7 separate regions of the Homo sapiens genome follow, and all the other regions are linked to region 1. Evidence: promoter capture Hi-C in 16 types of primary human blood cells and fetal thymus (Javierre and others, 2016). All regions are on one chromosome and are shown on one strand. The core of a region is centred on a gene start or on the middle of the fragment in contact, and the rest is flanking DNA. Distances in the headings are between cores, read along the strand shown.

What was found. Contacts are between HindIII fragments. The CHiCAGO score rates a contact against its expected background, and 5 or more counts as called.
Region 2: a contact is called between a fragment that was not itself captured here and the fragment with the promoter of RIPPLY1 in region 1, in 1 of 17 cell types (total CD8 T cells). The highest score is 5.0, in total CD8 T cells.
Region 3: a contact is called between a fragment that was not itself captured here and the fragment with the promoter of RIPPLY1 in region 1, in 2 of 17 cell types (neutrophils and total B cells). The highest score is 6.6, in neutrophils.
Region 4: a fragment that was not itself captured here is called in contact with the fragment with the promoter of RIPPLY1 in region 1 in 3 of 17 cell types (naive B cells, naive CD4 T cells and total CD4 T cells); the score reaches 6.7 in naive B cells.
Region 5: the fragment with the promoter of MID2 here is called in contact with the fragment with the promoter of RIPPLY1 in region 1 in 5 of 17 cell types (total CD4 T cells, erythroblasts, monocytes and 2 more); the score reaches 6.3 in total CD4 T cells.
Region 6: a fragment that was not itself captured here is called in contact with the fragment with the promoter of RIPPLY1 in region 1 in 3 of 17 cell types (non-activated CD4 T cells, total CD4 T cells and fetal thymus); the score reaches 7.6 in non-activated CD4 T cells.
Region 7: a fragment that was not itself captured here is called in contact with the fragment with the promoter of RIPPLY1 in region 1 in 1 of 17 cell types (naive CD4 T cells); the score reaches 5.1 in naive CD4 T cells.

The regions. Positions count from the first base shown.
Region 1 is chrX:106,901,905-106,905,265 of GRCh38, forward strand. It overlaps RIPPLY1 (ripply transcriptional repressor 1), which reads right to left and starts at 1,437. Exons shown (of 4, transcript NM_138382.3): 1 at 1,229-1,437; 2 at 236-311. The coding sequence starts at 1,383. It also overlaps a transcript of CLDN2 not described here. The HindIII fragment of the contact is 2,011 bases long and covers 392-2,402 here.
Region 2 is chrX:107,427,761-107,431,198 of GRCh38, forward strand. It overlaps the pseudogene KRT18P49. Among named protein-coding and RNA genes, the nearest start is that of FRMPD3, 20 kb to the right of the region's middle. The HindIII fragment of the contact is 1,149 bases long and covers 1,392-2,540 here.
Region 3 is chrX:107,848,359-107,851,556 of GRCh38, forward strand. All of the region lies in intron 2 of MID2 (midline 2), which reads left to right. Among named protein-coding and RNA genes, the nearest start is that of MID2, 24 kb to the left of the region's middle. The HindIII fragment of the contact is 7,784 bases long and covers 1-3,198 here.
Region 4 is chrX:107,794,973-107,797,993 of GRCh38, forward strand. It overlaps NCBP2L (nuclear cap binding protein subunit 2 like), which reads left to right. Exons shown (of 2, transcript NM_001348372.2): 2 at 1-857. Among named protein-coding and RNA genes, the nearest start is that of NCBP2L, 19 kb to the left of the region's middle. The HindIII fragment of the contact is 871 bases long and covers 1,030-1,900 here.
Region 5 is chrX:107,824,343-107,827,579 of GRCh38, forward strand. It overlaps MID2 (midline 2), which reads left to right and starts at 1,524. Exons shown (of 10, transcript NM_012216.4): 1 at 1,524-2,088. The coding sequence starts at 2,085. RefSeq lists silencers at 1,942-2,131, 2,292-2,341. The HindIII fragment of the contact is 8,930 bases long and covers 1-3,237 here.
Region 6 is chrX:107,871,867-107,875,191 of GRCh38, forward strand. All of the region lies in intron 3 of MID2 (midline 2), which reads left to right. Among named protein-coding and RNA genes, the nearest start is that of MID2, 48 kb to the left of the region's middle. The HindIII fragment of the contact is 669 bases long and covers 1,661-2,329 here.
Region 7 is chrX:107,627,679-107,631,098 of GRCh38, forward strand. It overlaps PRPS1 (phosphoribosyl pyrophosphate synthetase 1), which reads left to right and starts at 832. Exons shown (of 7, transcript NM_002764.4): 1 at 832-1,072. The coding sequence starts at 951. RefSeq lists a silencer at 670-719. The HindIII fragment of the contact is 1,363 bases long and covers 1,302-2,664 here.

The sequences.
Region 1 (3,361 bases), core at 187-2,686:
CTGTGGGGCCTGCCCAGATCCCTTGCCCACTCTGAGCTTTGGTCTCCTCATCTTTCCAATTGCCACAGAAAGCTTGGATCTGCTCTCTGTTGGAATCAAATGTTGGCAAAACTGTGAGGATGCTATCTCAGATCTGCACCTTTGGACTGAGGTCAGGGGCTCTCTGGGAAGTGACCTGGTCACTGTTAATGCATGTGGCTGCATGTGAACACACGTCACAAGGGCTCGAACTCACCAAATCCACCAGCTTCCTCATCTGCCTTGGGGAGTCATTTGTGGAAGACAGCCAGGGCCTCCAGAGACAAGTTCCTCTGGGACAAAGAGGAGAGATCAATCCGTAGAGGAAGAGACTGAAAGGTGGGCTCCCTGAGATAACAAGAGACCTCCCAAAAGCTTGGCTCAGGTGCCATCTGCTCCAGGAAGCCTTTCCTAAGGCTCCTGAGCCCATTCCAGGACAGATGTCCCTCCTCTCGGCTTCAGCAATGTTATTATTGCTTTTATCATGCTGTTTTGTAATTGTCTATTTACTTGTCTTTGGGCTTCTTAAGCTCAAAGATATGCTCAATCGTATCTGAATCCTCAACACCTAGTACAATGTCTGGTACACAGTAGCTGTTTCAGTAAATGTTTGTTGAAGACTAAATGTTTGGAGTAATGAGTGGGGGCTAGATGGAAAATATCTTGCCTCCTACTTCCTGCTCCAAGATGTAGAACTCAGAGCTCTACCATCTTCCTGGGCTGAAGAAGAGGGCCAGAAATGTTCCTGGGTCCACTGCTTCCCCACTGGACTTGCAGAGGTAGGAAAAAAGCAAATGGAAATCTTATGGCGTGGTCAGGAAAAAGACAATGTCCCAGTCAAGGGCCTCTTTAGACTTTGGTCCTCTTTCCCCAAACTCCCCACCCCCACAGTCTAGATTGTGTTAAGCCCAGGTTTCATGGCAGTTCCCCATCCCCCTCAGGGGACTCAGCCACCTGGCCTATGAGGACCTGGCTGCTTCACCTTCAGCTTTGGCAACAGCTGTCCCCAAGTCCCCTCTTGCCACCCAGCGGGATTAGTGAGGTGAAAAGTCAGATGAGATATTCCAGCTAGAGTTGAGGAGGGAGGGCTATGAGGCCATTGCTTTTCCCCTTCACAGAGAACAGGGTGCCCTGGACATCTCATTTTCCTTCCTCTCTCAGGAAGCTCTCAAGCCTAAGTTCAGGTTGCCAAAGGCTAAGCTCAACTTACCTTTCACTCCCATTTACTTCTTGTCCAGAGGAGAGAAGGCAAGATGGGCTTAACAGGCCAGGGAGTGCCAGTGGGGCTTGTGCTAGGTCTGGAGCTAGGGCCAAAGCCAGGGCTGGAACAGGGGTGGCAGCAGCAGCACAGGCAGCAGAGTCCATTCTTAGGGGACCAAAGCCAGTGGGGTCTCCTACTTCCCAGAACCTTCTGCACTCTTTTGGCTTTTCCTGGGAGACCCTTTTATAAGCCCTGCCTGGTCTTATAAATTATTCAGGGAGGACAGGGGTGGGATGACTTGGGAGGGGGATAAAGATTTAGGGAAGGGGCTCAGGGAGGGAAAGCTGGGTTACCTGGGTGTGAAATCTCTCCCAGTTGAATAAACATGGTGTCAGTGGGAGGTGAGGGATTTGCTTTGCCTCCAAGTCAGAAAGAAAAACACAGAAGGGGCAAATCGCACACCATTTGTGTGAATTCCCCAGGGAGTAGCAAGGCCTGAGAGGGGAAGGAGAGGAGCTCATTAGCACTCTGAAACCACAGAGATGTCAGGGACAGAGGGCTGAATAGACAGGCCTTTAACTAAGCCAGTTCCTGGCAAGAAGAGACAGCTGACCCCTTTAAGGAGAGTGAGGGACTCACTTGTTATTTCAGCTCAACCTCAGATAGATTTGCCAGGTGGACCTGAATGTAGGGTGACTGCCATTAAGCATATCATCTGGGTTAGGGAAAAAAGGGGCATTCTGGGCAGAGCAGGCCCAGATGCTTGTTGGGTAAACCTTAAGTCTTCTTTCAATGCCCCTCAGCCCCTTACTGATCAGTTCATTTGTCAAAGTGCCCCCTCCAGCCTCAGCAGTAAGTGGTCCAGTGAAGGAGAGCAGGCAGGATTTCACAGGGCCTCTGGGTGAGATTCCAAACCTCAGAGCTTAGCTTCCAGTTCAGAAGCCAGGGTGCTGGGGAGAGGCAAAGTTCTGCCCGACTACAGAGCTGCCGAAGGACCAGCCCCAGCCCCAGGCCTCAGTTCCCTCATGTAAGAGATGAGGGTGCTGGCCCAGTGGTCTCATAGGACCATGCCAGCCTGAACACTCTCTGACAGGGGCTACATAAATGGGTACTGAACCCGGGCAAGCCCAGAGGCCTGAGCACAGTCCTCGGCCTTAGCCAGCCTTCTGGGCCTTTGCCAGAAAGCTTCTAGTTACAACTACTGGCAGGGACCTTATGCTTCAGAGGTCTCGAAAATATTCCTCCTGACCTCAGTGTCCAGCCCCAGCACAGATTTAGCTTCTTGGATGTTCATCACAGTCTGGTTTGTAATGGTCAAAAATTAGAAACAACTTCAATGTCCAATAATAGGAAACCAGTTACATTAATTAGGGCAAATCCTTGCAACTGAATGCCAAGCAGGTGCTCACAATCATGTTCTGGGAAGTATAATTTTTCAACACAGAAAATGGAAAAAAAAATCAGATGGTAAGATAGCATGACTAATTTAAGGGCTCCTCATTTCTCTGTTCACCTACCCCCCATCTTCACCCCACTTCCAATTCTAGTCCCACTATGTTCTTTTCAGCAAAGGAAAATTGAAAACAACTTTTAAAAGCTGGTTAGATAAATCATTGGGCAGTTACACAATTTCATATTAAAATTGGCATGGTAGAAGAATGAGGGAAAAGTTAACATATTGAAAGAGTGAAAACAAAATAAGTCTCTAAAATATTACTTAAAGGATGATCCCATTTTGGTAAGAAAAAAGATGTAGAATGGACAGCGTGCAGAGAAAAAATAAGACTGGTGAGAAGAAAGAGTGTTAGGGTTGTCATTTCTGGGAGTAACAGTGGGGTGGATTTTTACTTTATGTTTTTCTGAATTTTCTAAAAAGTTCCACAATGAACTGATATTATTTGAGTAATAAAAAGGAAAGGCACAAAAAATAAAAATAAACCAACAAAGAAATGTTTATCCATGGAGGAACGAAAGCTGGGGGAAATGACAGATATTTTCAAATATCTGAGGATTAGACTGCAATGAGATTACACTTGTTCTGGGTGACTTCAAAGGGCAGGGCTGAGGCCCATGGCTGGAAGCTACATGGAGACACATTTTGGCTCAATCAAAGGAAAACTTTCTAACAGCTCAGTCACCACC
Region 2 (3,438 bases), core at 716-3,215, 530 kb after region 1:
GAGTTAATGGGTGCAGCAAACCAACATGGCACATATATACCTATGTAACAAACCTGCACGTTGTGCACATGTACCCTAGAACTTAAAGTATAAAAAAAAAAGCTCACTGATTAAGTCAGGTCTACCCAGAATAATATCACTTTTGATTAACTAAAAATAAACTTATTTGAGATCTTAACGATGCCTGCAAAATTCCTTTACTTTTGCCATATAACCTGATCATGAAAGTAACATGCCATCCTATTCACAGGTCTCACCCACACGCAAGAGGAGAGGGTTATACAGGACATGTACATGAGTCAGGAATCTTGGGGGCAATCGTAGAATTCTGCCTACTACAAAGGACTGGAAGATAAAGATGAGGAAATCCCTCACAATGGGGAAAAATAGATAAGAAATAAAGGAAAAGCAATAATGAAGAAAAAATTAGGAAGTTCAACATCTAGCATCCAATTATTAGAAATTCCAGAAAGAAGGGAGAAAATTATCAAAGAAGTAATATGATAAAATTCTGAAAGCCAATGGAAAACATGAGTTTTCTAACTGAAAAAGCCAACCGAATGTCTCGTAGAGTTGTGTTTTTCAAAGCCACATTCCCAACCATGTCAGGGTTCATATGCTGAATACTATGAAATGCTGATAAAAGAAATCAGATAAACCTAAATAATGGAGAGACATACCATATTCATGAATTAGAAGACTTAACATGGTTAAAATGTCAATTATCCCTAACTGGCTATAGATTTAATGCAATATTTATCATTTATATTCATCATTTGATAAATAATAAATATTTACCAAAATTCCAAGGGGTTTCTTGCAGATATAGACAAGCTTATTCTAAAATTAATATGAAAAGGCAAAGGTGTGGACAATGCCCGCATCGTTCTGAAGATCGACAATGCCTGTCTTGCATCAGCAGATGACTTTAGAGTCAAGGATGAGACAGAGCTGACCATGCACCAGTCTGTGGAGAGCGACATCCATGGGCTCCACAAGATCATTGATGACACCAATGTCACTCAGCTGCAGCTAGAGGCAGAGGTCAAGGCTCTCAAGGAGGAGTTGCTCTTCATGAAGAAGAACCACGAAGAGGAAGTAAAAGGCCTACAATCCCAGATTGCCAGCTCTGGGTTGTCCATGGAGGTAGATACCCCAAATCTCAGGACCTCACCAAAATCATGGCAGACATCCAGGCCCAATATGACTAGCTGGCTCGGGAGAACCAAGAGGAGCTGGACAAGTACGGGTCTCAGCAGACTGAGGAGAGCACCACAATGGTCACCACACAGTCCGCCGAGGTTGGAGCTGCTGAGATGGCGCTCACGGAACTGAGACATACAGTCCAGTCCTTGGAGATTGACCTGGACTCAATGAGAAATCTGAAGGCAAGCTTGGAGAGCAGCCTGAGGAAAGTGGAGGCCCGCTATGCCCTACAGATGGAGCAGATCAACGGGATCCTGCTCCACCTGGAGTCGGAGCTGGCACAGATCCGGGCAGAGGGACAGTGCCAGGCCCAGGAGTACAAGGCCCTGCTGAACATCAAGGTCAAGCTGGAGGCTAAGATCGCCACCTACTGCCACCTGCTGGAAGATGGCAAGGACTTCAATCTTGGTGATGCCCTGGACACCAGCAATTCCATGCAAACCATTCAAAAGACCACCATCTGCCGGATAGTGGATCATAAAGTGATGTCAGACATTAAGCCAGCAGAAGCAGGGTACTCTTTGGGGAGCAGGAGGCTGATTAAAAGTTCAGAGGGGAAAAAAAAGAAAGAAGAGAAAAAGAAAAAAAGAAAGAAAAGGCAAAGGAATTAGAAAAGCCAAGACATTATTTGTGGAAAAAATAAAATTAGAGGAATCACATTGAATGATTTTAAGATTTATAGAAAGTTAAGTAATCAATACTGAGTGTTACTAGTGAAGAGATAGGCACATAAATCAATGAGATGGAAAAGAGAGTTCAGAAAGAGATGTACAAAAAAGAGACAAAAGGCCAGGTGTGGTGGCTCATGCCTGTAATCCCAGCACTTTGGGAGGCTGAGGAGGGCAGATCACCCTAGGTCAGGAGTTCAAGACCAGCTTGGCCAACATGGAGAAACCCCATCTCTACTAAAGATCAAAAATTAGCAGGGCATAGTGGTGGGCACCTGTAATCCCAGCTAATAGGGAGGCTGAGGCAAGAGGATTGCTTGAACCCGGGAGGCAGAGGCTGCAGTGAGCCAAGATGGTGCCACTGCACTCCAGAGCCTGGGTGACAGAGTGAGACTCTGTCTGAAAAAAAAAAAAAAAGACAAAGATGCAAGAACAATTCAGCAGAGAAAACATCATCTTTTCAACAAATAATGCTGAAACAGTTGAACATCCACAGTTTTAAAAAAAGAACATTGACCTAAATATTATACCTTATATAAAAGTGAATTCAAAATAGATATTAGATCTAAATGCAAAACCTAAAACTATAAAACTTTTAGAAGAAGATGTAAGGGAAAATCTTTGTGACCTTGGGTTAGGCAAAGAACTTTTGGATATACCACCAAAAGCTTGATCCATAAAAAAGAAAAATTGGTAAATTGGACTTTATTAAAAGGTAAAACTTTTGCTCTGTGAGAGATACTGTTAAGAGAATAAAAAGACAAGCTACAAATTGGGAGAAAATATTTGCAAATCACATATCTGACAAAGAACTTGTATCTAGAATATGTAAAGAGGCTATTAAAACTTAGTAAGAGGCCAGGCACAGTGGCTCATGCCTGTAATCCCAACACTTTAGGAGGCCAAGAAGGATCACTTGAGGTTGCAGCCTGGGCAACACAGCGAGACTCCATCTGTGAAAAAAATCAAACTCAATAAAACTTACTGAAACAAACCAATATTTTTAAGTGGGCAAAAAATTTTTTGAAAAGTCACTTTACAAATGAGGATACAAAAACGGCTCACAAACACATAAAATTCATCATTCAGGAAATGAGAATTAAAACTGCAAAAGTGTGCCTTTAGAGAGCCACTAGTAATTGAAATAAAAAGGAATGTTAATACCAAGTTTGGCAAGGATGTAAAGCAACTGGAACTCTGTTTCATTGTTGGTGGGATTCTAAAATGGTACAACCACTTTGGAAAGTACTTTGGCAGTGTCATAAAGTTAAACTTAATACCAATCATATGATACAGCTTTTTCACTCGTAGAGAGAATGGAAAACATATGTCTGCACAAAACCCTGTACACAAATCCTCTTAGCAGCTTTATTTACAATTGTCAAAAAATGGAAACAATCCAAATACCCAATAAAAGTGAATAAACAAATTTTAGTAAATCCATACCATGGAGTACTACTCAGCAATAAAAGGGAATTGACTAATGATACATGAAACAACATGAATTTCATAAATATTATGATGTGTGAAAGAAGTCAGACGCAGAAGTACACATACTGCATGA
Region 3 (3,198 bases), core at 405-2,904, 950 kb after region 1:
TTTTAGTACAGGTTTACTTTTAGAATGTCCAAATAATAATGTATCCATTTGAGCTAGAGATGTAATCATGCTATGCACCTGAAGATGGGGGAAAGAAAAGAATATGGGAAGGTTTGGGCAGCATTTCTGATAAGGAGAGTGGGGGAGGTGTGGGTCTCAGCTGGATGATCACAGAGCCTTTTGAAAAGATGGCAAGTCTTTCACCTGGCTTGAGGGTCAGGTTATTCTTTAACAAACCTGAAGTAGAGTAGACCTATATGATATACATCCAGTGTATCACCTTCATCTCATTCTGGGACGTAGCCTGTGTCTATACAACAGCAAATAAATGTTTGGGGAAAGAATAAATTCTGGCATAAGGGTGTGGGCTTCAGTTTGTGAACCAGATGGCATGTTCTGTTGTTGAGAGGCCATATGTAATTGATACATAAAGTGACAGACTGAAGCAAAAGCAAAGTAAGTATTTTAAGACAAGCAGTTAAAAAAAGAAAGCAGACTGTGACCCTAAAAGCATGTGAAGATTCTGGCTTCTGGCTTTTGGAAGAGCTGAAAATGTCGGTGCATAGACAGGATGTCAAAAAAGAGCATGTCAAAGAATAGTAATGGGGCCACTGGCTCAGATTATTTTTAAAGATGAAGTTGTCTTCTGTCAATCAGGAAGACTCAGGTTTGGGATGAATTGGCCTTTCTGCCCTATTTCACTTCTCCCCTTCCTATGCTCACCCCAAGGTTCAATTCCCACATAAAAGCAGTCAGGATCTTGTCTAGGTTTAGATAATATTCCCCTTGTACCTTTTAGACAGCAAGAGAGAATACAGACATTCTATGACAGTGCCATGTTTCAGTGGAAATGATATGTTTCAATAGAACTAATACAGATTACACCCCCTTTTAGGCTTCAGTACTTACTGTGTCAGGTTGATGTGTGTAGGAGTGCTCATATATGTGCGAATACATATGCCTTCATGGAGTATGACAAATGGAGATCATGGTCCAGTTTGTGCCATAATGGGGTAATCTACCTCGCTTTAATAAAGAGGTGGTGTCTTGATGTACGCCTAGTTTTCTTGAGAGAGTCAATGAGAAAGTTACCTGAAATAATCTGTGTCTAGAGAAGTGAAAAAAAAAAACCAGCAATTATTTGAGGGTTGAAGAAGCCATTTCTGTTAATGGGATGCTGTCTGGAAGAAGAATAGCCTGTGCCCAGCTTTCTCAGATGGCAAAACATTTTCCTCTTTGGGAAGGGAATAAGAGAGCACAAAGAGGCCTAATCTATACAACACAATAAAACTTGGGTAAAAATGGAATCAGTGTAGACTGCCAATTTAGCTAACTGAGGCCTTTTAAAATCTGTTATGCAAATCAGCCAAATCTTTCCCTTACTTTGTGCTGTTTAGACACATGTACAATTTTGTGTGAGCTAGCATAATGTAGTCATCTGGAGGTGAAGAAGGTATCACAGTTTCATAAACTAAAATGGCTTCTGTAACATCCATAAAAGGGAAGCACACAAAGACCCAGAGGTAACCTCTTGCAGCAGGAAATGGGAGCTTCATCCTGCCCCCTGGCTGCCAACCTCCTGTCCTGTTTCCTACCAGCAGATATCTCCATTCCAATCTCCCCTGCCACTTTGGCTCTCTTGCTGTCACGGTTTAACTGTCCTGAGAAAGTTGCACTAACCGGGCTTGAACATAAGGAACCTGGCCCAGTCATTAACTACATTGCACAGGAGCAGAGCAAAACACACCAATATTTCAAAACTGAACAACAACGAAGAGACATGTTTACTTTTATATAGAGATTTTAGACACACACATCCACACACACACAGACACACACACACACACACACACACACACCCTCTTTGTTTACTCAGCCAGAGTACAGACAAGATAATTACTTGGCCAAATCAATCAAATTATTCAAACCTAGAGTGGCCCAGAATTTTTTGTTCTAAATGACTCGTCAGTGCTAGGCATGATAAGGAAGAGTGACTTCCTTAGATTGCATAATCGCTTCAATTCTCTGTTTCCCTTTGCATATGTTCATTATTGAGAATAAATTCCAATTTGAGAGGAGGCTTTAATTCCTTGTAAATGAATAGGAAATGAGTAAGTAAATGTTCGGTGTTTTCCTCAAATTATGTCTCATATTGTAAGAAAACAGTGGCAAAAAGCCATCAACAGATGGTGTTTTCATTAGCCAAAGATTTATTTTTCAAAGCATTTTCATATTAATGAAGTAAGGTTGAAATTAGAGTCATCTTGTCAGATCTAGCTCTGTGTTGTTAACATGTGCTGGCATTCTGCAAATTGCTAGGGGCAAACTAACCATTTGCCATAATTTTGTGATGGTAACTCAAGGCGCATAGTCTAACTAGACCTCAAATTATGTGTTCAGCCCTAATTTTTGTTTTCAGTGGCTTTATAGAAGCCATGAGTCTCAGTTCTGGGCCACAAAAGAGGAACACATAGCAGAGATTTTGCTATGTCCTGCTCTGTACTGTGAATTATTTATGAGATATCAGTTTTGTGATCAGTGTTGCAACAGGTTGAGGTACTTGTTAAAAACATTATTCTCATGGAATCCCATGTTTGAATGGAAATGCATTACAGTTGGAAACACAAATTTCTAATATTGTATTTGCTTGGCGTTCATCAATCTACATTATATTTGCCTAATATATCAATATATTCGCCTAATATATCAATATATTCATTTGTGATACATGGAATTTCCATTGATAGGAATTTGGGCCACTGCTAGAGAAAATTATCAACTGGATTCACTACCAATTCCCACTGCCTAACTCAAGCTAGACCCTTTCATCACACTACAGAGTTATTATATTCACCTTATGGCCAAATTTTTGAAGAGGAGTCTAGACTTGCAGCCTCTACTTTGTCACTACACCATACTCTAACCTCAGGATTTCACAAATTCTTCCAAAACCCTACTGAAACACCTTTTCAAAAGGTCATCTGTGACCTCTAATTACCAAATCCAGCTGCCTTTTATCAATCCTCATATTTCTTGCATTCTCCGCATATTTGACAGTGACAAATCCTTTCCTGAAACACATTTCTTTCAATTATCCTCAGTTTGGCCCAGACTTGCATTACCCTACGGCCTTGAATAGTGCAGCCTTCTTCTAACCAGTGTCCTTCCCCCATCCCCTGCCCTGGGCTTTCCTATTTC
Region 4 (3,021 bases), core at 215-2,714, 890 kb after region 1:
TTTTAAGAAGATTTCTGTTGGATTCTATGGCCATGTTCCTGCAGCCCAAAATTATAATTTTTTTTAGAGCTTGCATAAAATACAGTCAAATAAGTGGAAATTTTAAAAAGTTATCAAGAGAAACACAAGCACTATTATTTGAAACCATAGAAAAGTCTGGAAGAATTTGTAATAAAAACAAAAATCCTCCTGCCCCACCTCTTCCTATCCTACGCCTATTCCCTGGACGATAACGCTTAATTATTTTTATTAGTTTTTGGTTTGTTTGTTTCTTGGTAGTTTCCTCCATATCTCCAAATAACATGACTACTTACTTTCTTTTTAAACGCTACGTACTGACTTCCTACTTTCAGAGATGAGGATTTAGCTCACTTACACCCCCATTTGCACTTCTCTACTCTCCATCCTCTCAATATAGTTCACAACACTTTACAGAGGGTTCCTGAGTTACAATGGCTTGGCTTACAATGTTTGGACTTTACAATGGTATAAAAGTGATGTGCATTCAGTAGAAACCATGCTTCAGGTACCCATACAACTATTTCGTTTTTGACTTTCAGTATAGTATTCAACAAATTGCATGAGATACTTAACACTTTATTATAAAATAGGCTTTGGGTTAGATGATTTTGCCCAAGTGTAGGCTAATGTAAAATGTTTAAGATAGGTTGTGCTATGCTATATTTGAGAGGTTAGATGTATTAAATGCATTTTCAACTTAATATATACAATAAGCTTATTAGGATGTAACCCCATCATAAGTCAATGAGCATCTGTACTTACTTTCTTTACTGTTACATAGCATAACTTAGGTTATACTGCAGTAATAAAAAATCGAAAAATTTTAGTGCTTAAAATTACTAAGTTCTGTTCCTCCCACTACATTCCCATTGCTGATTACATGGTGCCGGGGTCTGCTCCATGCCATGATTGTCCTCCTTCTGGGGCCTAGGCTAATAGTATACCCACTATCTGGAATGATGATGACAGAGGGAAAAACAGAGTGACAAATCATGTCCTGGCTCCTCAAGCTTCCACCCAGAAATGATATCCGTCACTTTTGCTCACATTTCCATTCTCAAAACATGTTGTCAAAACTGATTCTGAGGGAGTGGAGAAGGATCTGTAGGAAGAGATCCTGAATATTAGTGATGAGTTATACAGTTTACTACAGGTTCTCCTATAACTTTAATATATACAAATATAACCCCATTTTTGTTTTGCTCCACCATATAGTACTTCCCACTTTGTAAGATGAAGATGTTAATGTCCTTTTGCCTTTTCTTCATCTTTCTTCCTCCCCCTTCTACTTTCTAGCTTTTTTCATCTATATTTCTGTTTTTACATTGTCAAACTTGATAAAGTTGTCCGTGCTCTGTCTTTCAGTTAATTCCAAAAGTTTACAATTAGTAAAGAGTATTTTATTACTGTGACTATATAAATATTGTTCCCTGGTCAGGCGCAGTGGCTTATGCTTGTAATCCCAGAATTTTGGGAGACTGAGGTAGGCAGATCACTTGAGGTCAGGAGTTCAAGACTGGCCAGGGCAACATGGTGAAACCCTGTCTTTGCCAAAAATACAAAAATTGCTGGGCATGGTGGCATGTGCCCGTGGTCCCAGCTACTCAGGAGGCTGAGATGGTAGGATAGTGATCCCTCCTGAGCCCAGGAGGCGGAGGTCGCAGTGAACTGAGATTGTTCCACTGCACTCCAGCCTGGGTGGCAGAGTGAGACCCTATTTCAAAAATAAGTAAATAAATAAATAAATAAAGTTCCTTGCAAAGCCAGGGAGAGTCCAACATCTATATCTTTTCTGCTGGAATTTTTATTTACCATTCTCTCTTTCTTATATTTGCCTTTATTGCACCCCTTAATTTCCTTCAAACTCTGTAAAAAATTAAGCTTTCCATGGATATTCTCCTACTTTTTTCTTTTTTGAAGTCTCACTCTGTCGCCCAGGCTGGAGTTCAGTGGCACAATCTTGGCTCACTGCAAACTCTGTCTCCTGGGTTCAAGCGATTCTCCTGCCTCAGCCTCCCGAGTAGCTGGGACTACAGGTGTGTGCCACCACACGCAGCTCATTTTTGTATTTTTTTTAGTAGAGACGGGGTTTCACCATATTGGCCAGGCTGGTCTCAAACTCCTGACCTCCTGATCCACCCGCCTTGGCCTCCCAAAGTGCTGGGATTACAGGCGTCAGCCACTGCACCCGACAATTCTACTTTCCTCTCCATGGTCTGTCTGTCCTCCTATTCCAGTTTGGATTTGTTACTCTCTAGACCAGGATTTCTCAATCTCAGCCCTACTGATGTTTTGGACCAGAGAATTATTTGTTGTGGAAGGCTGTGTAGTGCATTGTAGAATTCAGTATCCTTGGCCTCATATACCCATTAAATACAGTAGCACGCATTTGTGCGCGCACACACACTTCAACTTGTGACAACCAAAAATGTCTCCAGACATTACCAGTTGTTTCTGGCAGGCCAGTGGGGAGGCAAAATCACAACTGGCTGCAAACCACTCCCTAGACAACAGTTTCCATCCAGAGATTTTTCTTCACTATAGTCCTGAATTGGACTGACTATTTCATGGATCCTGTGTTTATCCCTTTTGTGATTTACTTCTATATTAGTCCATTTTCACACTGCTGTAAAGAACTACCTGAGACTGGGTAATTTATGAAGCAAAAAGGTTTAATTGACTCACAGTTCTATAGGCTTAACAGGAGGCATGACTGAGAGTCCTCACGAAACTTACAATCATGGCAGAAGGTGAAGGGGAAGTAAGCACATCTTACCATGGTGGGCAGGAGAGAGAGTGAGAGAGCAAAGGGGGAAGTGCCACACACTTTTAAACCATCAGATCTCAGGATAACTCACTATCACAAGAACAGCATGGGGGAAATCCACCCCCATGATCCAGTCACCTCCAACCAGTCCTCTCCTCCAATTAGACATGAGATTTGGACAGGACACAAATCCAAACCATGTCATTCCACTCCTGGCTCCTCCCAAATCTCAT
Region 5 (3,237 bases), core at 274-2,773, 920 kb after region 1:
TGAACCACACCTTGCCGTATTTTCCTGTGTGTTTGTTTTGTGTGTGTGTGTGTGTGTGTGTGTGTGTGTGTGTGACCATCCTAATGGATGTGAAGTGATATTTCATTGGGGTTTGATTTGCATTTCCCTAACAATTAGTGATGTGGATCATCTTTGCATATGCCTGTTGGCCACTTGTATATCTTCGTTGGAGAAATGTCTATTCAAGTCTTTTGTCCACTTTTAAGAGTTTTTTTTTTAATTGAGCTATAGAAGTTCTTTATACATTCTGGATATTAGCACATTATCCGATATATGGTTTGCAAATATTTTCTATCATTTTGTAGGTTGCTTTTTCACTCTGTTGATTGTGTCCTTTCCTGTGCAGATGTTTGAAAGTTTTATGGTCCCATTTACCTATTTTTGCTTTTGTTGCCTGTGCTTTAAGTGTGACTCACTAACTTTTACTTCTCTTAGGGGCCAGACTTTCATCAGGAGAGCCTGGTTGTGACTTTTGTCTTGGTTTCCACCTCAGTGCTCTCTAGCACATTGTTTAACAGGAGTGTTGACTGATTACTATTGGTTCCCTGAAGGGATATACCAAGAGATACCTCAATTTTTCTGGACTTGTTCCTATGCACAATGATGGGAGGCGTGTGTGTGTGTGTGCTGGGGTGAGTCTTCCCATTTTCTCATTTCTTTCCCCTTCTTCTCCCTTTTTGCCCCAAGTTAGAAACAGAGTCTCTTATGGGGCTTCCTGCTCTTTCCCTCTCCCATCCACCTTTTGAGTCGGGTGGTGGTCTCTGAGCCAATGACAGGTCAGCAAACAGGCTGATTCCAGACCAATGGGAGGATGCTGGATTCCAAATGGACCAATTAGCTTATTAGGGACCTGGAATAGCTGGATAGCTAGCATCTGCCTCATTGTCCATGTGGTAACGACCCTCTTGTTTTACTGGTCAACAATTTGAAGGTACAAGAAAAATCCTACTTTTTTTTTTCTTTTGATGGTTTTAATCCACCTCCACAACTTCTGCCCGAGGCCAATAAAACACAGCCATTCTTTTTTTGTAAAAAGAAAGAGAGGTTCGGTTTCCTTCAATTGTCTGCCCTTTTCTATCTCCTCCACTATTTTTGTTTTACTCTGTAGTTAACTTTGCATAGAGCAGCTTCATAGGGAGGATCTCTGCGGTGGACCCGGCTCTCTCTTCTTATTACCCGTTGCAAAGGCCTCTTTCTTGTTCTAACCTGGGGGTTTGTGGGGTTGGGGGACAGGGGGATTGGGGAGTGGGAGAAGAGTTTAGCCATAGCCTTCCTTCTGCATTTCACACACATTTAGCTATCTCTGTCGCTCTGTCACACACACACACACGCACATACACACCATACACACACACACGCACACCCGTCCGGGTCCCTCTCGGTGTGTCTTCCTTCAAGATGACAGGGCGCTGGAGAAAAGGCTGCTGGAATCAGCTGGTAGGTACAGTAGTAACCCGAGCCCCACCCACCGGCTGCCTTTGCTTGCTCAGGTTTCTCCGGTCACTCCTGCCAGGGGAGAAGACATGTAAACGTGCCTCCAGAGGAAGGGCTGGGGGAGCTGGGAGTGGCGGGGGCGGCGGAAGGTGAGCCTGGGAAGGTGGCCGAGCACCCCTTCTTCTTGGGCCCTTCCCAGTGCTCCCTTGGGGTGTCAGCCCCAGCCCCGTTTGCCCCCACTCCGCCTCCCTTTTGGAAGGGATTGCCTTTTTTTTCCTCTGCGGCGGCGGAAATGACAGTGTGGTGCTGCCGTGGTGTCATGGTGCTGCCCCTGGACTGAGGGGCGAAAACTCTTAAGTTTAGCTCGGGAGGCCCAGCTGCGGTAGCATCGCGGCCGCCGTGCTGTCCCCTGCGGGGCGCGCGGGCTGGCGGATCCCGGCTGCTGCGCGGCGTCGGCGACGGTAGCGGCAGCGGCGGCGAAGGCGGGCGGCGGCCTACAGTGGTAGCGGCGGCGGCGGCGACCGGGGCCCGGGAGCTCGCGCCGGAGCCCGAGCCAACCCGCTGCGGAGGCAGACGAGAGCCCAGCGCCCTCGAGCGAGCGGAGGAGATGGCTGGCACCTGGGAACGCTATGGGTAAAACGCGCCCCCTCGCCGCGGCCCTGGAGGTCGAGCGTCGTAGCCCTCGCAGGGCTAGTCTCCGGCTCCGGCCGCTTTTCAGGTGCCGCCGGGGCCCGGCGTTGGCCGAGGGCTCTCCGGCTCGGCGAGGCAGGGTGATGGGGCCCGCGAGGCTCGAAACGGCGACGGGGGCCCCAGCTCAGCTCCGGCTCTCAGTCATGCTGTTGGGGCCCGGGTTCCTGCCACTGCCCTCCTGGGACGGAGTTTGCACTCCGGGGTGCGGGGCGGGGGCGGCCGAGGCCTCTGCGCAGCCTGGCCGGGCCCGGCGCGGGCAGTCGAGCGAATCCCCCGGCGCCTGGGCGCGAGTCTGGGAAAGGGCACGGCCGCCTTCCCACGCTCCCGCAGCCGGCAGCCTCCTCGGCCCAGGCGTCGCCCCTTGGCCGGCCGTCTGCCGGGCGGTGCTGTCGCAGCAGCCGGCGTGGCTGCGGACGCCCTGCCGGCGGGGAGGCCCGGTGAAACTTAATCCCTTTTCTGCCAGGGAGCGATCCTCGAGTCTCCGTCTGGATGGTTCCTTATTTCTGGCCTAGCTGTGAAATCAGCTCTGTGGGGGAGAGGGAAAACTTACATATGTCCACAGGACAGACTGCGACGCAACCAGGGAGAGTGGGGATTTTCCATTCCTGCCTTGTAAGAATTAAGTAAATAACGGCGGAGTAGATTTACAGAAACATTACTGGTGATGATAAGGTTTAGGTTACTTAGCACTTCGTGTGTTGCACATTATTTTTCAGAGGTGTTTCTTCTTAGAGCAGGAAATTGAAATCCTGCAGTCGTTGTACTCTTTACTTTCTCTCTTCCACGGTCCCCTACCCGTTTTCAGGATCACTCACCTTCCTATGTCACAACGCTTACTTGCCTACCCAAATCCCCCAGCAGAGCCCCTTGGACCCCAGCCTTTCCCCATCAACGTGTGCACTCCCAGCCTCCCAGCCATGCAGCATCTTACTTCTCAACCACTTTGCCTTTTTGAGGATTTCTGAGTGTGGGGCGGATAGATGGTGATGGTTGTGTGTCTCTGAGGATGAGCCCTTATAAAGGAATATATTGGAAACTAAATAGAGAAGTACTGTGTGTGGGTTGATCCCTCTGATTCTCAAGTTGGGCCAG
Region 6 (3,325 bases), core at 745-3,244, 970 kb after region 1:
ACAGGATGGGGAGCAGGGTGGGGTATGGGTGGTTTTGGAAAAGGCAGCTTTCAAGCGGGAAAATAGGAATGCGTGTTCTCACTTTGGGACACGGTTCCAGGCTTGAGGGCAAGACCTTTGCCAGAGACCTATCCTCTTCTGCCCAGAATTTCCCTGCCTCCTGCCCCTGTCATTTCCCTCCTCTGAAGAGGCTCATCTAACTGCTGGTGTAATATGGACGATGACTGGTCTTAGCTACTTCCTGTTTACAGGGGGTGTGAGTATGGGAAGAACAGCAGTCAGATTCCTCCCCAAGGTCTACCTAAGGGTCCCCAGCAAAAGGGAGCCATTGTCTGAGGTTCTGGTTGCCTGACTGTTTGGAGTTTGATGGCCTCTAGGTGCAAAGAAACAAGTTTTACAGGGTTAAGTATGCATGGACCAAATATATGTCCAAAGAGGAGTTAAAAGGAGAGAATCTAATGCTGAAGATTACAGAAATAAGAAGTGAAATATACTAATCATTCTGAAATCAACATTATACCCCATGGTATAGCACAGAATGGAGGTAAAAACAACAAGCCTAGGCAAGACTATAAAGAGGATATCCATGGAAGGTTAATTATTAACACTTATCTTTTGTGATTTTTAGCTTGAGTTCCCCAATCTCTTCACATAGGTACTTTGGGTGCTCTTCTGGGTTGATGCAGGTAACTCTGTCAGCTTCCCAGGCCTTTACTCGGGTATAGTGAATACAATGATCTATTCCAGTGACTTTCAGTGCCATAAGAGTAGAAAGAAGTATAATCCCTCCCAATCTGGGCTTATAGAGGGAGAAAGGGAAGCAAGTACCTTTACCAGTATTAGGTCCACTGGGTTGAATAGAGGTGGCCCTAGTTCCTGGGATTGGACCTCCAACAGTTGTTTCAGTTCCTGTTGGAAATGGGCCAAAGAAGTTATATGTTTAATCAAATCAGAGGATTTTTGGTCTAGCAAGAAATCATTCGTGAGAAAAGGCCATCCATACATCATTTCAAAGGAACTCAAACCCAGCTTTGGAGGGGTGTTTCTAACATGTAGTAGGGCTATGGGGAGAAGGGTAGTTCAGGGGCGACGAGTCTCCTAAGACAGCTTCCTGAGGTGCATTTTGATAATATTCATCTTTTCTACCTTTCCTGAGGATTGTGGTCTCCAAGCACAATGAAGATGGTACTGTATGCCTAGTGCCTTTGAGACCCCCTGGGTGACGGCTGCCTTGAACAGGGGCCATTATCACTCTGGAGGTACTTAGGGAGTCCAAAGCAAGGAATTATCTCATTAATTAGTACTTTTATCACCTCAGAGACTTTCTCCGTCTGACAAGGAATTGCTTCTACTTAGTTAGTGAAGGTATCTATCCACACTAGGAGATACTGGATGCCTCTTGCCTTTGGCATATGGGTGAAATCCACTGCTAGTCTTCCCCTGGATAGCCTCCTGTCCTTTGGATTCCTGGGGGAAGAAGCTGTCGATTAAGGGGATTATTTTAAAGGCAGGTCTAGCAAGCATTAACGATCTGTTTAACTGTATCAGGTTTTTACCTGAGAGCAATTTCTGGGCCAACTGATGGGTTTTATCCTTACGTAGGTGGAAAGCTTGGTGAAGGATTTTAAGAACTTTCCATTGGTCAGCAGCCTGTAGATGAAGCTTGCTGTCCTCCAATTGTAGCCATCCTGGGGACTGAAAGATGTATCCCTGAGAGATTGCCCATTCTATTTCCACAGGAGAATATTTAGATTATATTTCTCTTAAGGGGCCCTCTCAGATCAGTGAGGCTTCAAGTGGATCAGAAATCTGAGGCTTTGTTGCTGCTGATTTAGCTGCTTGGTCTGCCAATCTATTTTGCTTGGCTACTTCATCCATACCTTTTTGGTGGCCTTTACAATGTATTACTGCCACTTCACATGTGAGAAAAACCGAGGATAATAGTCTATTAATTTCCTGATGGTATTTAATGGGACTCCCATTACCTGTGAGGAAGTTTCTCGCTTTCCAGATAGTGGCATGGGCACAGAGGACTAGGAAAGCATACTTAGAATCAGTGCAAATGTTAACTGTTTTTCCTTTGCTTAATTTGAGTGCCCTTGTGAGGGCAATTAGTTTGGCTAATTAAGCACTTGTCCCTGAGTAGAGAGACACACTCTCAACAATATCATTCAGAGTAACTATTGCATACCTTGCCTTATGTATCCCTTGTTCTACAAAAGAACTTCTGTCTGTAAAGAGAATCCAGTTTGGGTTCTCTAAGAGGGTTTCCTTGAGATCCTCTCTGGTCACATAGGTCTGTACTACTAGCTGTTCACAGTCATGTTCAAGCTTCCCAGCTTCCTCTGGGAGGAAGGTGGCTGGATTTAGGGAGGGACAGGTTCTTAATTGGACTTCAGATCCCTCTAATAGCAGAACTTGATACACGAGGAGGCAGTTGTCTGTTAGCCAGAGATTCCCCTTAGAAGACAGCAGTCCTGACACATTATGTGGAGTGCAAACAGTTAAGTTATTCCCCATGGTTAACTTAGTAGCCTTTGGTACCAGCAAGGCTACTGCTGCATCTGCCTGGAGGCAGGCTGTCCATCTTTTGGCTACCAAATCAAGCTCCTTACTTAGGTAGCCTACAGGCTGCTGGGCTGGACCAGGGCTTGTGTTAGCACTCCCAGGGCCATTTGCTTTGCTTCTGACACATAAAGATTAAACATCTTCCCTATGGGGAGACTAAGGGCTGGTGCCTTAAGCAAGGTTTGCTTTAGTTGGTCAGAGGCTTTTCTAGTCCCAGGTTCCCAAATTAGAGAGTGAGTTTTAGCTGCCTGAGTATCCTTTATTAGGTGATATAAGGGACAAACTATTTCACCATACCCAAGTATCCATAGTCTGAAGAATCCTGTAATACCTAAGAATCCCCTCAGTTGCTTGAGGGTTTTGGGGAGGGGAAAGGAGGAGATGGACTTAATCCTTTCTTTGCCCAGTGCTCTGGTCCCCTCTGACAAGATCAGACCAAGGTACTTCACTGAAGTCTGACAGAGCTGAGCTTTAGATTTTGAAACCTTATATCCTCTATTAGCCAGAAAATTGAGAAGAGCCTTACTACCCTCCGAGAGGTTTCCTCAGTTCGAGCACAGAGGAGAATGTCATCTATATATTGTAAAACTTTAACCTGAGGATAAAGGAACTCAGAGAAGTCTCTTGACAATGCCTGCCCAAACAAGTGAGGGCTGTCTCAGAATCCCTGAGGTAACACTGTCCAGGTTAACTGGGTAGTTTGGTTAGAGGGATCCTCAAATGCAAACAAATACTGGGAGTCAGAGTGTAATGGTAT
Region 7 (3,420 bases), core at 733-3,232, 730 kb after region 1:
CAACATGTAGCTGATGACATTGAGGCTTACATGAGGCAGACAGGACTAAAACCCAGGTTTTTTCAAATCCCTTCAGGGCTCTTTATCTGAAGTCCCATAGAACACTATACTTTCTTTCCTTTCCGAGGGCTATAAAAGTTAGATCTTTATTGTCCAGATAGTTTGGAAAATCCATCTTCCTTCACTTGTTTCAACATACTTGGTTCCAGCACTAGAAACAAAACAACTTTCTCTTGCAGTGTCTCTTGGATGATTCAGGTGGCATGCCTTCAGTCACTTCCCCCATGTAAACTGTCTTGCAGGCAAAGGCGACACTGCAATTACAATGGGCAAGCAAACTCCTTGCATGCACGTCTGTGATGTAAAAGTGTTTTAATTCAGCCCCATCCTTATAAAGAGATAAAAAATGTGTTCAGAAACATGCAAACTCGTGGCTGTCATCCTGATAAACAGATTTTCTTAAAGGAAACTGTAAACCAGAGCCAGACTTACTTTCCTGCGCTGAGGGAGGGGAAATAAAAAAGCAGGCATGGTTGATTTCCCGCTAGCGGGAACGATCTGGCCTCAGACGTCACCAGCATCCCTCCACCCCCAGTCCAACGTCTCCTGTCCCCAACAGCCTAGCTACAGGGGGCCGGGCTATGGGTTAGTCTCGCCCCCGTTCATGCTCTTCACCCAATACCTGAGAGAATCGGAAGGAGGCAGAGCTACACCGAGGACCAAACCCCGCCCTTCGCTCCCTCTTAGCTAATCGTTGCCAGCGGGGTGTGGACTTCGCCGCTGACCCCACCTCCGCCGCTTTGGGTAATTTAGAGCCGCGCGCCGGGCGGGAATGTAAGATGGCGGAGTAGCAACGCAAAGCGCTTGGTATTGAGTCTGTGGCCGACTTCGGTTCCGGTCTCTGCAGCAGCCGTGATCGCTTAGTGGAGTGCTTAGGGTAGTTGGCCAGGATGCCGAATATCAAAATCTTCAGCGGCAGCTCCCACCAGGACTTATCTCAGAAAATTGCTGACCGCCTGGGCCTGGAGCTAGGCAAGGTGGTGACTAAGAAATTCAGCAACCAGGAGACCTGGTAAGGACCAAGTTGGGACCCTGACTAGACCTCACCTGCCCAGGCGGCAGAGTATAGGAGGGATGGGGTCGCCGCTTGAGCTCAAACAGACTGGGGGTTGGGGGGAGAGGGTGCAGCTCTGTGACTAGCCTACCCCACGGGCTGTTTCCGTTATTTTACCTCTCGCGGGAGGGTCACGTTCATTCTTACCGTGCGGTGGGGTGGAGTCAAAAGATGGAGTGTGAGGCGAAGCTTCTGCGTTTGAGGGCAAGGGCTGGGGGACCCAATAGATAGTGGCTGCATAGAGCGACGAGAGGGGACCGACGCTTAGCCAGGGCGGTAGGGACACGTGGCTTGGCTTTGCTGTTGAGCCACCCAGGCTGGACTGGGTTGCTTCAGCTCTTAGACTAGCTTGCATTTAGAGAGCCTACCTGCGTACTGAGCTCTCCTGGTCTTTCTTTTCCTAGAGTCCAATAAGCAGCTTTTTGATTCGAAATGGTGTTGGTCCGTTCGGCTTGGTGTTGAGGGAAACTGACATTATATACTGCAGGCGCCAAAATTATTACGACTTCCCTTAGATCAGCAAGCGTTGGCTTTTCTCATCTTATGAATCATCTACCTGAGTAATTGGAGCCATAAATCTAGTTGATTTGTTAAAGTGATGCGTTGACTCTGCATCCTTGATAGCCAGCATCTCAGCTTGAGCCATCCAAAAAATCTTGGAAATCTCAATTCTGGAATGTTTGACCTTCCCCAGTGCAGCTAGTGGTACAGATAATGCAAAAGCGTATTTTTCAGTAACCGAGTCCATCCTGGACTTGGCTCCTTCTTTAAGCTCTGTGTAGGGAATTTAGGAAACAATTTTATACCTGAATGTTAAAGATAATTGAGGACAGGCAATGTAGTGGAAGACTAGGATTGGACAGTGCATTGCAACTTGCGTTTTTTCCATTGCCTTGCCAGTAAAACTTGCTTCCTCGACTCCGACTTACACCCTCTACCGGCACCATGGGACTGTTTTAGAGATGACTTGGTTACCTGATTATTTCAGTGCCCCTTCCACCTAAGTGTGGGATCTTTAGTTTCTGATAGGTGTAATTTGTATTTTATTGTTACCCTATCGATTAAATCAGAGCCCTGCCCACAATCTTACAGATTTGTTAAGGGGAAAGTTTTCACCTAATAATCAGATAAGAATATTTCGAATATTTTTTCCTAAATGTTTTTGCTTACTTTTTTGCTTTCTTTGGACTGATTTCCAAGTTTAACTCGCCTTATCTCTTTTAGACCCAGCTGATAAAGTAATGTCACCGATAATGGACAGCTTCTTCCCGAATTATTGTGCTACTGATTGTGATGCAAATGATAGTGTAAACATTGCCATCTGTAACCAGGCAATACCTTAGTTAAAAGAGGCTTACAAACTGCTGTCTTTAGATTTTTCCAAACCATTATGGCTCATGGGCCTTAATAAAGAATACAAAACAGGACTAGACTTTGTGATTGGCAATATAGTTAGGGGACAAGAATGTTTTTCATTTAGAGGTTTTCTTTGGCCCCTGTGGATATTTAATCCTTTTCCTATGCGTCTAGGAAAAATGTGAAGGCATGAAAGCTTTATTTTCTCCTTGTGTTAATCCTTCTGCCCTCTGCATAATGCAGCACCCCAGAACCTGAGGCTATATTGGGAGAGGAGAGGGGGAGGACAACTTAGTTTTCTACTGATTGATTTCTATTAAGTCCAACATGGATAATTGCTGACTGGTTAGATTTTCTTGTTTCTGGCTTAATCATTAGCTTCTTGTTTCCTAGATATTCTGAAATCTTCATTGAACATAATCACATTTTTTTTTATGGAGTTCCCCCTATCTTTGTTTTTCCTATACTGAAGAAATGGTAACTGCTCCCTATAACTGCTCCCCCAGGTGACTCTTGGTTGATGCTCTCTTGAGCAGAGTAGCTTTTCTTCTAACATAAGGATCATCCTTGGCTGTCTGGTTATTTAGGAAACACACACACACACACACACACACACACACACACACGGAGGGGGTGGGTGTTAAAAGTGCTGAAATCAGAGAACTTGGATCTGAATCCTTAACCTTTCTTTGCCCCAATAATCTAATCTGTAAAGTAGTACCTACCCATACTGTTGTTATGAGGATTAAATGAGATAGAAGTAAAGTTCTTAGGATCTTGTCCAAAACATAATAAGTACAACAGTAAATGTTGACAAGAAGGGGTGGTGATAATATTGCAGAAAATGTGGAAAATTTAGAACACGGAAGGGAGAAGATATGCCTCTTAATTCTGCCACCTGACATAAATGTCACATTATCATTTCTGACCTCCCAGATATTTGTGTAAGA